3 separate regions of the Homo sapiens genome follow, and all the other regions are linked to region 2. Evidence: promoter capture Hi-C in 16 types of primary human blood cells and fetal thymus (Javierre and others, 2016). All regions are on one chromosome and are shown on one strand. Each heading gives the region's core, a stretch centred on a gene start or on the middle of the fragment in contact. The rest is flanking DNA. Distances are from core to core; before and after follow the strand shown. Region 1 has its middle 7.4 kb from the start of KCP. Region 2 holds the start of TSPAN33 (tetraspanin 33). Region 3 overlaps TNPO3 (transportin 3).

Region 1 (4,250 bases), core at 179-2,678, 230 kb before region 2:
AGCTGCGGTGCCGACCTCGCCGCCTGGGCCTTGGGGTTCCCTGGGCGCCAGCACCTCAAACGGATCGGGGCGTGAGGGGCGCCTGGGAGGTCCCAGGCCGGCGGGGCGCGCCCTGCTGTAGGCACCCACCGAAGCTCGGTCTCCAGGCGCAGCTGGACGCGGACCCCGCCCTACTCCAGTCTTCATCCGGTCGCCCGCAGGTGCCTGAGGGGCGCGGGCCCTGGTTGAGGCCTAGACTTGTGGGTGGGCAACAGCCGGTACCGCTCCCACCACCTTCCGGACGCGGGGACGCGGGGACGCGGGGACGCGGAGAGGAGAGAGCGGCGGCCGGGACCCACCTGTCTGCGATGCTCCTGCGTGGCTGCGCCCTTGAGCACTGGTGGGGCGGCGGGGCCGAGCTGACTCTGCCCGGGCTGCGCTGGGTTCTTCTGCACCGCGCCGGCCCCGACCGGAGGGACCACTCGAGGAGGCTGGCACTTACCGGTGACTACTGACCTGGAGGGAGCATTGGGCCAGGCCCAGGGCCTGTAAGGAGACGCCAGACAGATAGCGCGGTGGCCTAGACGACCACTGGGCTTCTTCGGCAGTCTGGAACAGGGAAATAGTAATTCCATAACCTCAAATTCCGCTCCGCGCCCCGCCCCCCGACTCCCCCCAGCTCTGAAGGGTCCGCAGGTCTTCCCCAGTCCATGCTATCGTTGAGCTCTGGCACCTGAAAGAGATGGTTTCCCGGGTCAAGAGCATTAGGATGCCAGGTGGTGGCTTGCGCCTGTAATCTCAGCACTTTGGGAAGGCCAGGCAGGAGGATTGCTTGAGTCCAGAAGCTGACCAGCATGGGCAACATAAGGAGACCCAGTCCCTACAAAAATAATAAAAAGAAATTAGCCAGGCGTCATGGTGAGCGCCTGCAGTCCCAAGCTACTCTGGAGGCTGAGGCGGGAGGATCACTTGAGATGGGGAGGTCGAGACTGCAGTGAGCCATGATGGAGCCACTGTATTCTAGCCTGGGCAATACATTGAGAACCTGTCTCAAACAAAACAAAACAAAAAACATCAAGAGACGACTCGGGTTGGGGCAGGATGTCTCTTTTCTGCCTTTACACAGAGGGTAGCCCACATCCACAGAGCCAACTCATCCTCTTGCCCCTATGACATGTCCCCGCCTGGGCTGAGGTTTTGCTTCCAGAGGCCCTGCCCTCCAGGGCTCTGATGCCTGTGCAGCCACCTCAGTCTGCTCCCACAGGAAGGGACCATCACTTGCAACCAGAAGCCATGCCCAAGAGGACCCTGCCCTGAGCCAGGAGCATGCTGCCTGCACTGTGAGCCAGGTCAGCCTCCTGCCAGCCTCAGCCCCATCTCCTGCATGTCCACAGCCACGGCCTGCCACCTGAGAGTCAGCGAGCCTGGGACATGCCCAGGGGTGCCTACCCACTCACTCCTGACAGTGGCCAGGGGAGTGCAGAACCCATACACAAGTCAGCAGATACTGGCTCTGGCCTGGGACTGAGCCAGAGACCATGGGGAAACAGGCACAAAATCTTTTTCCTGCCCTCAGGGAGCCTCCAATCTAGTTGAGAAGATAAGCTCATAGCCAAGCTACCACAAGATTGAAGACCCAATGAGCAGATTAAGAGGAGGTGTAGAAGGCAGTGCAGTGTGTATTTTGCCAGAGGAGGGCACAGGAGGCAGGGGAAGCCCGTCGAGGCTGGGCAGTCAGGGGGCCTTTACAGACAATGGGTCCTTTGAGCTGGGTCTTCATGGGAAAGTGGGGTTCCACCTGAAGGAGAAGGAGTACGTGAGGGTCCTCTGGGCACAAGGACAGGGTGGAGAGAGGTGGGTTGCAGGAAGTCCATGTGGGAAGGCCAGTGGGAACAGGCTGCTGTAAGCCTTGCAATTAGGACTTTTTTCTATGGGCAGTGGGGGGTATTGAAGGCTGAAGCAGCCTGTGGCATGGTCAAGGGGGCGCTTGAGGAATATTCACCTGGTGGGGGCTAGATGCAGACAGAGGCGTCGGGGCTGTGACAGCAGTTGTCTAGGCATGGAGCCAGGGATGGCAGTGGGCTGGAGAAAGGGGGATGTTTCTAAAGGACGGGCAGGAGCCGGTGACTGGCTGGATCCCCTGGAATAGTGGAGGCCGAGCTTGGGACACTAGGATAGCAGTGGTGCCAGGGACATGAAGAGAGCTGGGAGGAAGAGGAGGTCATGGCTATGCAGGGAGGTGTTACTGGCTCATGGCGGGATAGGGTTGCCAGATTTAGCAAATAAAAATGCAGAATGTCCTGTTAAATTTGAATTTCAAATAAACAGCACAATTTTTTAGCATAAGCTCAGAGTCACAGTGGGAATAAGCTGTAGAGAATGGAATCAATTTGAGGTCCTTAGGATCCTGGGGCCTGGCCAGGCCTGTCCACACTGACCTCCAGCCAAGTAGCCTGGCCCTATCCTTGGCACGACCTACTAGGTGTTCTCCCTAGAAATGTTATCGTCATGAGAAGTCCTAGCCTCCTCGCCATCCCTGGTCACTGTGACTCTCAGCTGCTTCTTGCCCAGCTCACCCCCTGCTCTGCCCAGTCCCACACCCCAGCACCCCCACCTGCCCTCTTCATGCCTCTGTCAGAGCCCCTGAATATTGCTGGACAGCATCTCACCACTCCATTGCTTCCATGGCAGACTCGTGGCCACAAATATCAATGAGCACTGGACATTGCCAGAAATCCTCCTACAATCTCTTGGCAAATCGTTCTCCCCCTCCCTGAGAGGAGCATTTTTTTTTTAACCTTCCAATGGTTCTGCCCCTTACTTGCCATATGATCTTGGCAAGTTATTGAACCTAAGTCTCAGGTCCTCCCCTACGAAACAGGGGTAATAAGAGCACTTCTGTCTTTGCTCTCGTTAAGGATTGTCAGACTGGGTGTGATGGCTCATGCCTGTAATCCCAGCACTTTGGGAAGCTGTGGTGGGTGGATCACCTGAAGTCAGGAGTTCGAGACCAACCTGGCCAACATGGCGAAACTCTGTCTCTATTAAAAATACAAAAAGTAGCCGGGTGTGGTGGCGGGCACCTGTAATCCCAGCTACTTGGGAGGCTGAGGCAGGAGAATCACTTGAACCCAGAAGATGGAGGTTGCAGTGAGCCGAGATTAGTGCCACTACACTCCAGCCTGGGTGACAGAGTGAGACTGTCTCAAAAACAAAACAAAACAAAAACAACAACAAACAAACAAATAAAAAACGATTGTCTTAGCCTGGGTTCCTGGAAATCAGAGCCTGAGACAAAGGCTTGCATGCAGGCTGATTTTGGAATATGATCCCCAGGAGCAGGAGGGAGGATTGGAAGTGTGAAACTGGGAAGGATGGAGAGCCAATACAAGGGTGCATTATGCAATGGAGCCGACCACTGCGGTGGGCATCAGCATCCGGTCCTGCAGGACCTGGGGAGCCATGTGAAAGGCAGGCAGGCAGTAGAAGCCATCGGCACTGGGAGGCCCCCAGGGCATTAGCTTGCTCCCAGTTATGCATGAGCCAGTGCCCACATGGGTTCCCGAGGGTATCCAATGCTGTGCATCAGAGAAATTCCAAAATGAGAGAGGTAGATTTGCAGCCAGGACCTCAGGAGAGACGCTGTCAGGGTGCACTGTGTGGAGCTGCTTGCAAACTGTGTACAACTGGAATGAGGTACAGCTGAGAGGATTTGCATAAGAGATGGCCAGCACAGGTGTTAAGTAGGATAATACACACAGAAAACTTTTTACAGTGCCCAGCACATTTTAAGCACCACAATCTGTTATTATTTTCATTGTCATAATCATCATCTCCCTCTGAGGTCCAAACCGAAAAGTCAATGTTAACATTTTTTAAAAATCTGCAACAGAAGGTAAAGAAGCTTCTGGAAAACTCACCCTATAAAGTGAAAGCCCAGGGCCCTGAGGAAAGGGTGTTATTTGCAAGGCACTTGAGTTCCACAGTTGAGTATGATCACTGTGTGCCTCTTTTTTGGGTGCCAGGCACTGTGCTCGATGCAGGGGTACAGTGGTGAATGAGACAGGGTCCTGCCCAGAACCTTCTGGGAAATGAGACTCCTGGTAAAGGGAACCACATGAGCACTGGGCTCAGGTCCACACAAATGTCAGGCTTGGAATAAGCATCTGGCCTGTTTTTCTCTGCTGGGCTGGGGGGACCGTGGTGCAGCCTTTCTGACCAGAAACAGCTCTTTCTTTACAAGAAGAGGATTTGGCTAGAGAAAGAAAGAA
Region 2 (4,060 bases), core at 1-2,500:
TCTGATATTCAATTACTTCCGCAGTTTTAACACAATTCCACATGTAACGGCATCGGTCAGCATTATGTCCCACTGCTATTCCAAGCATACCCTGTGCTCCAGCCACAGCAGTCTGCTTATTTTGCACGAAACACATGGCGTGCTTTTGCACCTCCAGGCTTTGGTTCACCCCCTTTTTTTTTAATCCACCTGGATTATGTTTCCCCTCCGTCTCTACTATTCTAAATCCCATCCTCCCCTAATTTCACTTGCCACGCTATCTTCACTAACCTTCTACCAAACGTATTATAATTATTTGTGCGGTTATCATATTTCCACACTGGATTCTTAATTCTGCTAAAACGAAATACTGTAATGCCTTTGATGAGCCTTCCATGTGCCAGCCATGTGCTAAGTGAGCTACATGCATTATCTCATTTAATCCTCAAATCGCCATCTAGGTCAGGACTCTCCCATTTAACATTAAACAAACTGAGGCTCCGAGAGATTAAGTAGCTTGCAGCTTTCACGCAGCTAATTATGGTGGAATCAGATTCCCTCCCCGAGGTTCAACTTGTATTAGTTAGGGTAGCCAGCATAATATATTCGCCAGCTACGCTGCACTCAACCTGTGTGTGCCGGATCAGCATGTTAAAAACGGTGTCTGCAAGTAGACCAAGGGAAGAGGGGCTGCGGGGGCGGGAATTGAGACAGCAATGAATTAGGATGGCGGGATTGGCGGTGATGTTTCCAAATTTCCACTGTTGGGTTGTAGAGCTTCTGAAATAAGCATTTAAAATGTATAGTTACTAAACAAGATTGCATCTACCCTTGGTCTAATTGTTATGTGTAGGTTAGTTTTGTCTCCCTGATTTTATTGTCATCCCCCAGGGATTGTTTCTGTTCTCCCGCGTTCCCAGAGCTTTCGGCGCATTGCTCAACACACGGTGTGCGTACTTGTTGATTTTAATGTATGTGTGTTTGCATATGTGCACAGCAGCTGGGCGGAGGACGTGGGTGTGGGATGCACTGTGCATTCCTTCTCCTCACTCTTGTTCCTTTGAGCAGCTGCAGCCTGGATGCTTTCCCTTAGGGGTAGGGGAGAGGCAGAACCGCTGACCCTTTAACAAGTTATCCCTCACAGAACAGGTGTCTCCCCCGACTCTCGGTGGAGAGGGATGGCTGGATACTTAGTGACATCAGCCACGAGCCAATGGGAAGTCGGGCTCCAGCCGTCGCGCCAATGAGCGGCCGGGGGCGGGCCGGGTTTCCTGGGCGCCTGGCTGGCCGGGCTGGTCCTGCGGCCGCGGGTGAGTCTCGTCCGCTCGCGCTGCCCACCGCGGCTCCAGCAGCTCCAGGCGCGGTTCCCCGGCCCGCGCCGCTCCCGGCCCCCCGGCTCGGGCGCCTCCCGCCGCAGCGCAGGCTCCCCCGCCGGCCGGGCTCCTGCGCGGCGCGGCTCGGCTCATGCCCCCGGGCGCGGGGCACACAGGCCGGCCGGCAGCCGCTGGGAAATAGGCCCCCGGGGGCGGTGGCGGCGGCGGGGCCATGGCGCGGAGACCCCGGGCGCCGGCCGCCTCCGGGGAGGAGTTCTCCTTCGTCAGCCCGCTGGTGAAATACCTGCTCTTCTTCTTCAACATGCTCTTCTGGGTGAGTCTCGGGGTCGAGGGCACCTGGGCGGCGGGGTCCCCCCGCGGGGTGGAAGGGTGGCCCGGGGTGCCCCACGCGCGGGAGCCGCACTGCCGAGTTTTCTGGGCTGACGGCACTTTGGGGGAATTTATCCTGGGGAGGGACACCCCGGGGACGCCGCGTCTGCAGGGGGCGTTGTAGGGAGGAGGGTATGCCAGGGAATCAGTAAAGACTGATGGGTATTCTCGGGGCGTCGGAGGAGGGTCTGTGTTAGGCTAGAAATGTGGGTTTGAGGGAGCCTGTTGGCCCAAGGCGGACCCACTGACACATTCATGATGGGGGTCGGGGGTGGCGGCTGACTTTCAGGCCTGGGGGCCTGGAGGCCCGGCTGGCAAAGAAAGAAGAGGAAGGAAAAACCCAAACCTCTCTCTCCACCACCTCAGAGAGGATGGGTTACTGGCATCATCTCTTCCTTTTGCAGGCCTCATCTACCCCCACCTCCACCCCCCCAAAGTCTAGGAAGAATGGCCTCCAGGTGCAGATGTCTTTCCCATCCCAGCACTGCCCCAAACTTTGTCCCCTCCCTGCCACCCTTCTCAGGACCAGACTTCACCCCTGGAGCCTGGCAATCACCAGTGTCTTTAAACAGGACCCCGTGTTGGGCCGGAGGGCCAGGGGTCCTTTCAGAATCTTCTGCTTGGGGTGGAAAAAGTATTGGGCTGGGACTCCGGACACCTGGATTCCCATCCCACTCTGCCGTTCATTGTTGACTTGACCGACCTAAGCATGTATGTTCATGTCTGCAGGCCTTGACTCCCTCCCCCACAAATCCAACCCAGTGTGATCAGGGGTGGCAGAAAGACTGCTGAAGCTGAGAATTGAGCTGAACCAGATCATGCAATGCCAGCTCGACCCTGTTTCCTGGCTAGAGAGTCCTGGAGGTCCTGGGGTGTGAGAACATAGGGACATCCTTCCCCCATTCACCTCCTCTTCTGGCTCCTACCACACCAGAGCTGCTGCTTCTGGAGCCCACCATCCTTGCCCACTTCAGCTGGAGACCTAAAGTTCAGACTTGCAGGAGGGAAGAATTGAGTCTAAAATATGTTTCCTAGGGGAGGGAGCAGAACAGACATCTAAGCCATTTGCTGGAAAGGTTTCACAGGGCCCGTGGGGTGAGGTGCAGACACAAAGCCCATAAGTGCTGGCCTGTTGGGACAAATGAGAGAAATCCCATAGGGTGGTGATGACAGCGCACTCAGCCATCCTACTCCTGGGGAAAATGAAACTTGTGCTCCTATCAAATGCTCAGTTGTAAAACTGGAAAAAAATTTTAGAAGACATCTTGTCCAGCATCTGTGTTTATGTCTATAAAATGTAGAAAACTAAAGCACAGAGATGTTAAATGTTTTGTCCAAGGTCCAACAGCTGGTTAGCAGGCTTGGTCTGGTGACCTTTCTACTGAACCACAGTGCCGCTGGGGGAAGTCCTCAGCACAGATGGCTGCTGCTATAGCTGGGGTATGGGCAGTATTAGTAGTTAACCAGTCAACCCAAGTTCCCATAGTCTAGGTTCTGCTTCAGCTGGAGGTTAGGGAAAAACACAAGAAAATCCCTTACCACTCTACCAGTGCTGGGGGATGTACTAAGAGACTCCCCACTTAGGGGCAAGTATCAGTGAAGTCTCTGTGCTCACTGAGTGTGCCAGGCCAGTGACGTGACATCCTCGGAGCCAGCACTAGCATTTCAGGGACTTTAGGTCGTCACTCTGACTTCCTTTATCTGCCGAGACTGTCTCCCTTGGAGCCATTGGTACCTCACCCTTGTCTGTGCTCGCCAGTGACAACAGCTGGGTGCATCTGTTACACTTGTGTTCCTGGTCATTTTTTTTTTCTCGAGCTTCCCTACCCCCTACCTCCACCCTACCCCCCTTTTATCGGACAAACGACTTTGAGAGATCTCAGCCAGGAGAGAGTTTGGCTCCACAGACCCATTTACCTTGGTAAAAATGCTTCATTCAAGGTCAGAAGACGTGGGTGGCCAAGCTAGCACCACCCCAAATTAGAATAGAGCCCCTTCTTGGCCCTACAGTAGACTCATAAAAAATCAGAGGCTCTAGAAATAGCACACTGAAAGACAAGAGGCTCAGCATCTTTTTGGCACCAACTTACTGTGTGACCCTAAGCCAATGTATCTGTCTCTCTGACCTTAATCTTTCTCCTCTAAAGGAGAAACAATTTCTGCCTCAGTGAACTATTTAAGGATGAATGAATCATTTTGGGGACTGTTTTCTTTCTTCAAGACCTAGAGCTGGATCTAAGGATGAATCTCCCTGTGTCCTGATTGCCCTTCCTAGGGGACAGTACTTTTCAGGTGTTATTGAATGTCCCTTCTCCCCCAAACCCAGTGCTGCACAGGTATATTCATACAAGAGCAGCTGGAGAGAAAATGCTGCCTCC
Region 3 (4,486 bases), core at 1,045-3,544, 190 kb before region 2:
TATAGCTTTAGATATGCATTCCACATGCTGTTTTTCAGTGGCTAAGGAGGGCTGCATTAAGTCTTCCACACATTTTTTTCAGTTCCCCACACAATTGCCTGTGAAAACAGCCAAATTCCTTAAACAGAGCAAAATCAACTGGTTATTTCAAGGACCTATGGTTGGACAAAACTTAAAGGTTTTATTATTTAGCCAGAACATGAGAGGGATGGCTGGGGTAATGTGCTGATCCCTGGAATCTGATATCACTCTATAAACACTCAAGTTTTTTTCTCTCCTTCTAATATTGCCTCTTTAGAGATTAAAACCCTGTGTACCACTGATGTTATGCTGGAAGATTTGTTTCACCAATTCCTATTGTTCTGTAGCTTGAGGATTTATGCCCAGGAGTGAAAAAGTTAAAGTGACAGGCAAAGAAAAGGCAGAGAAGTGTCAGTATATCAACAACACTGCCAGATCTATCACATTAGAATACAGCTCTGCAGGTATTAGCTCAAAGCCCAATTGCCATAACAGACTGTTATGATTCCATTTATTAAAAACTCAGGAAAATGCAAACTAATCTACAGTGATAGAAAACAAACCAGTGGTTATGTGGAAATGGGGATGGATGGGAAGAGGGAGGAAACAGGTATTACCTAGGGGTTCAAGGAAACTTTTGGAAATAAAGAGTATGTTCACTACCCTGATTGTGATAACGGTTTCATGGATGTATCTTATGTCAAAGCTTATCAAAGTGTATACCTTAAACACATGCAAATTATGTTAATGATACTTCAATAAAGTTTTTTTTTTTAAAGACCAATAAATCTGCAGGTCAGGAAACTGTCTACTTGGGTGGCCATAGTAGAAAAACCATACCACACTGTTTAACTGAAAGAGTAACCCAACTCCCTTTCCCACTGAGGCTACACAAAAGGGTAAAATGTAAGCGTGATGAGCTTTGGTGTGAATTAGGAGAATAAAAAGTGCAGAATGAACCACTTCCCTGAAGTCTGAAGGGTCTGTGGCATCAGGGCAGGGGCCTGCCCTTTCAACTCCATCCCCAGATGTCTATCAGGTACCAAAGGCTGCTTCCATAGCTAGTCTAGCTGAACCATTTCCGAGCTACAAGGCAGTGAATGAAAGTAAAAACAAAGAAACACTGGTTAAATTTTAAAAATTTATTCTTTCTCTTTTGTTGCTGTTGATTTGTTCTTGAGATGGCTACAACACCAGACAGAACAGTGCCCTCATATCTGATGGCTGTGAAGGGCTGCACTCCTTTGAAACATTAAGATCTGCTTTGGGCTTCCCTCTTCGGCCTCACCCTCCCCTTAAAATCAAGTCATTTCCACACTTTTTAGTAACATACTAAATGACACATCATCCCTTGTTAGCCCTGTAAACATTTTTTCTCCACACACCCTCCCTCTTTTTTTCTCTCATGTCTGTGGGTGAATAATTCACTAAGAAAAAAACCTTAAAAAACAAAAACTTACACATTTATATCCTGCACTCCCCACCCACCCGCCCACCCCAGTTTTGGCTCTTCTCTCCAAGGCAGACAACAAACTGATGTGGATTGGAAGTGGACTGAGAGAATGAACGGGGTCAGGGTTCAGATATCCATAAATTCTGACCCTGGCAGGTCCCGAGCATCACCAATGTGACCACGATAGAAAGCAGAACAAGTTCCTTGCTTACTCCTCCTTGTCTAAACAACTCTAAAGGTGGGAAGAAACAGCTGGGGAAGGTAGAAGAAATTTCTACTCATTTGCATTTAAAAGGAGGGGAGAGAGAAAGAGAAGGAAGGGTAGGAGAGGAAAGAGAGGACAAAACAATAGAAAACCTGAACAAATGACCCTGACCCTCTTCTTCCAATTGCAGCTATTTAATTCATGTGAATCCCCACATTATCCCTAAGTAAATATTTTGTTTCACAGAAAGCTTGTCCTTTTGTTTTTCTGTGTACACGTGCGCACTGGCGCTTGTGCGTGTATGTGTGTGTGCGTGCATGTGTCATTTGCTACCAGGTGAATGTTTCAGTTCTGGTTTCTGTTTAGTCTTCCTTTTTTTTCTTTTTTCTTTACTTAAAATTATTTTTCCTTTTAGAAAGTTCACCAGGAAACCAGCTCCCCTCCCACCACGCCGGGCAGGCCACAGCCATCTTTTTAAAATCCGCGCTGATTTTCCCTCACACCCCCAAACAGGAACTCCTCAGGATGGCCTCAGAAGGCTGGAGTCTCTCCCTGTCTGGCGGGACACCCTGGTGGCGGTGAAGGCCCCTCTGCCACAACGGAGGTTTCTGATTGTGGGACACAGTCTGGTTTTTGTTTTCTTCCTGTCTTCTAATTAAAAAAGACATTCCTGACAAAAGAGATAAGACAGTCAATAACTGCACCAGAAAATAGAGCATTTAGTAAAATCAACCTTAAGGCAGAGGTTTCTATATTTCCTCAGGTACCTCATTCTGAAGTCTGCCAATAAGAACTCAGAAAAAATAAACAAATAAATAAAAGTCTGGCGTTTTAACTTGTGGGTTCAAGGGAGCTACTGCTTTAATGAGACACCGTCTGCAGTGTGCTTCCAATGCTGAGTGTGCTGTGGAAACAAGGGATGATGTGTCAGGAGGGCAAAGAGCCAGCAGGTCCAGGCCTCCCATTCCAAAGCAACCAGGGAAGCTTTGCCTCAGTCTGCTAAATCCCACAGGCTTCATGTCGATTTTATTTTGAAAGAAGGCTTTGCCTACTAATAACAGTTGAAAACAAAACAAAACAAAACACCAATTTAGATGCTATCGAAAGGATACTGTATTAAGCGGAGTGGTTCAAAGTGAGGACTCTGGTACCAGAATATCTACATGTGAATTCTGGCTCCACGAATAACTGTCAGGCAAATTGTTAAACATTGTTGAACCTCAATTTCCTCATTTGTAAAATGGGAAAAATAGTAACAAATCCAGAAAAGCAGATGAGGATTATCTTAGTTAATACATCTAAAACACTTAAAACAGTGCCCTGACACACAGTAAGGGCACAATAAAAGTTAACCATGAACACCTACAGCTGTCCATGAGCAACCTTATGAGGTGTATCAATGTCAGCTAACCCAGACACCATGCAAAACCAGGACATCCCAAATGATATTATTACTCATTAAAACAATCAAAGTTGAGAAATGATTTTGGGTGTGGCAAGGCACTGCTGAACATCACTTTTACCTATGAATGCATTTAACACAGAAACTACCAGTGAGTGCTACAGATTCATCAAGAATTGCCTCCTGGGAGAAGAAACTCACCTTGAGACATCAAAGGGTGGGCTTAGAGGAGAGCTACCTTTCTTCTCTCCATCAAGAAACTGGCACCCAAATTCTACTACCCACTCCTTTCAGCTAAGCTTCTTGCTTTGCTTCAGAACCAGGAGACGGAAAGCACGTGGAGAAAAGTGCTCATCGGGAGCCAAAGATGCTCCTCCTCTCCTGTAAGGGCCAAGCATCCCTAACAGCTGAAACTTTTTGAACGCTGATATGACCCTCAAGCGAATGAGCATTGGAGCATTTTGGATTTTGGATTTTTGGATTAGGAATGCTCAACTGGTGTGCATTCTGCAAATATTCCAAAATCCCAAAAAATCCAAAATTGAAAAACACTTCTGAAAGTGTTTTTTCCTCCGAAATCCCAAGCATTTCGGATAAGGGATATTCAATTCATACCTCCTGCCCTGGTCAAAACCTGGCACTTCAGCATTCAGGTCATAAAAGTGATAAGAATAAGCTCTTTGCTCATTACATCTGGAGGGTCAGTTTTAGGAGACTGGCACCACATATAACAGTCAACTTGAGGTTGTTTTCGCCAAAGTGGCCAGGTTAAAAATACTTATTTGTTTGTTGCCATGTACACTTACCATCTTAGAAGTGTCTGTAAGGGGAAGGGGGAAGAAAATGTTTCAATGCACTGTGTAACAGTTACTTTCTTATGGAGGTGAAAATGGTACCCCAAAGACACTGACAATTACTGGCTGCCCAGGCCCAAGAAAATCCGGGCCCTGTATATTCCAGCTGTTCACCACAGTTAAACTGCTGAGTCCTTCCCTGACTCTAGCTATAAGACTGGTCCCATGATAGGCATTAAAACCTATCCCCATTCCCAGGCATCCCCAACAGTCCGACAGTCCGGACAAAAGCTGGGAACTATGTATCCTCACCTGGGTGACAGGCACAGTGCAGGAGTGTGAGCTATCGAAACAACCTGGTGAAGTCTCGCAAGGCCCAGCAAACTTGTTTACATTCCTCAGCACTAGAAAAGAAAAGGTAGGTTGGTCCTTGACTGAGGAGAAAGACAGAATATGCTGAAAAACAACTGCAACATTGGGGCACACTGAGAACCGTCCCAACTCTGCTAGGAGCTCTCTCCATCGTCTCCTGAGCGATCCTGGCTTCAGATCTTTCTGTAATTCAGGGCAAAAATTATTATATATGAGAAAAGTTATAAGCTTGGTGGTCT

The links. The method cuts DNA at HindIII sites, captures the fragments that hold promoters and counts their contacts. A CHiCAGO score of 5 or more calls a contact.
Region 1: a fragment that was not itself captured here is called in contact with the fragment with the promoter of TSPAN33 in region 2 in 3 of 17 cell types (naive B cells, endothelial precursors and total B cells); the score reaches 7.4 in naive B cells.
Region 3: a fragment that was not itself captured here is called in contact with the fragment with the promoter of TSPAN33 in region 2 in 1 of 17 cell types (total B cells); the score reaches 5.2 in total B cells.

The regions. Positions count from the first base shown.
Region 1 is chr7:128,915,950-128,920,199 of GRCh38, forward strand. No RefSeq gene overlaps it. Among named protein-coding and RNA genes, the nearest start is that of KCP, 7.4 kb to the left of the region's middle. The HindIII fragment of the contact is 4,905 bases long and covers 1-3,881 here.
Region 2 is chr7:129,143,457-129,147,516 of GRCh38, forward strand. TSPAN33 (tetraspanin 33) reads left to right here and starts at 1,251. Exons shown (of 8, transcript NM_178562.5): 1 at 1,251-1,626. The coding sequence starts at 1,525. RefSeq lists a silencer at 1,164-1,373. The HindIII fragment of the contact is 19,696 bases long and covers 1-4,060 here.
Region 3 is chr7:128,953,037-128,957,522 of GRCh38, forward strand. It overlaps TNPO3 (transportin 3), which reads right to left. Exons shown (of 23, transcript NM_012470.4): 22 at 4,188-4,279; 23 at 1,149-2,349. The coding sequence ends at 4,219. Among named protein-coding and RNA genes, the nearest start is that of IRF5, 17 kb to the left of the region's middle. The HindIII fragment of the contact is 734 bases long and covers 1,928-2,661 here.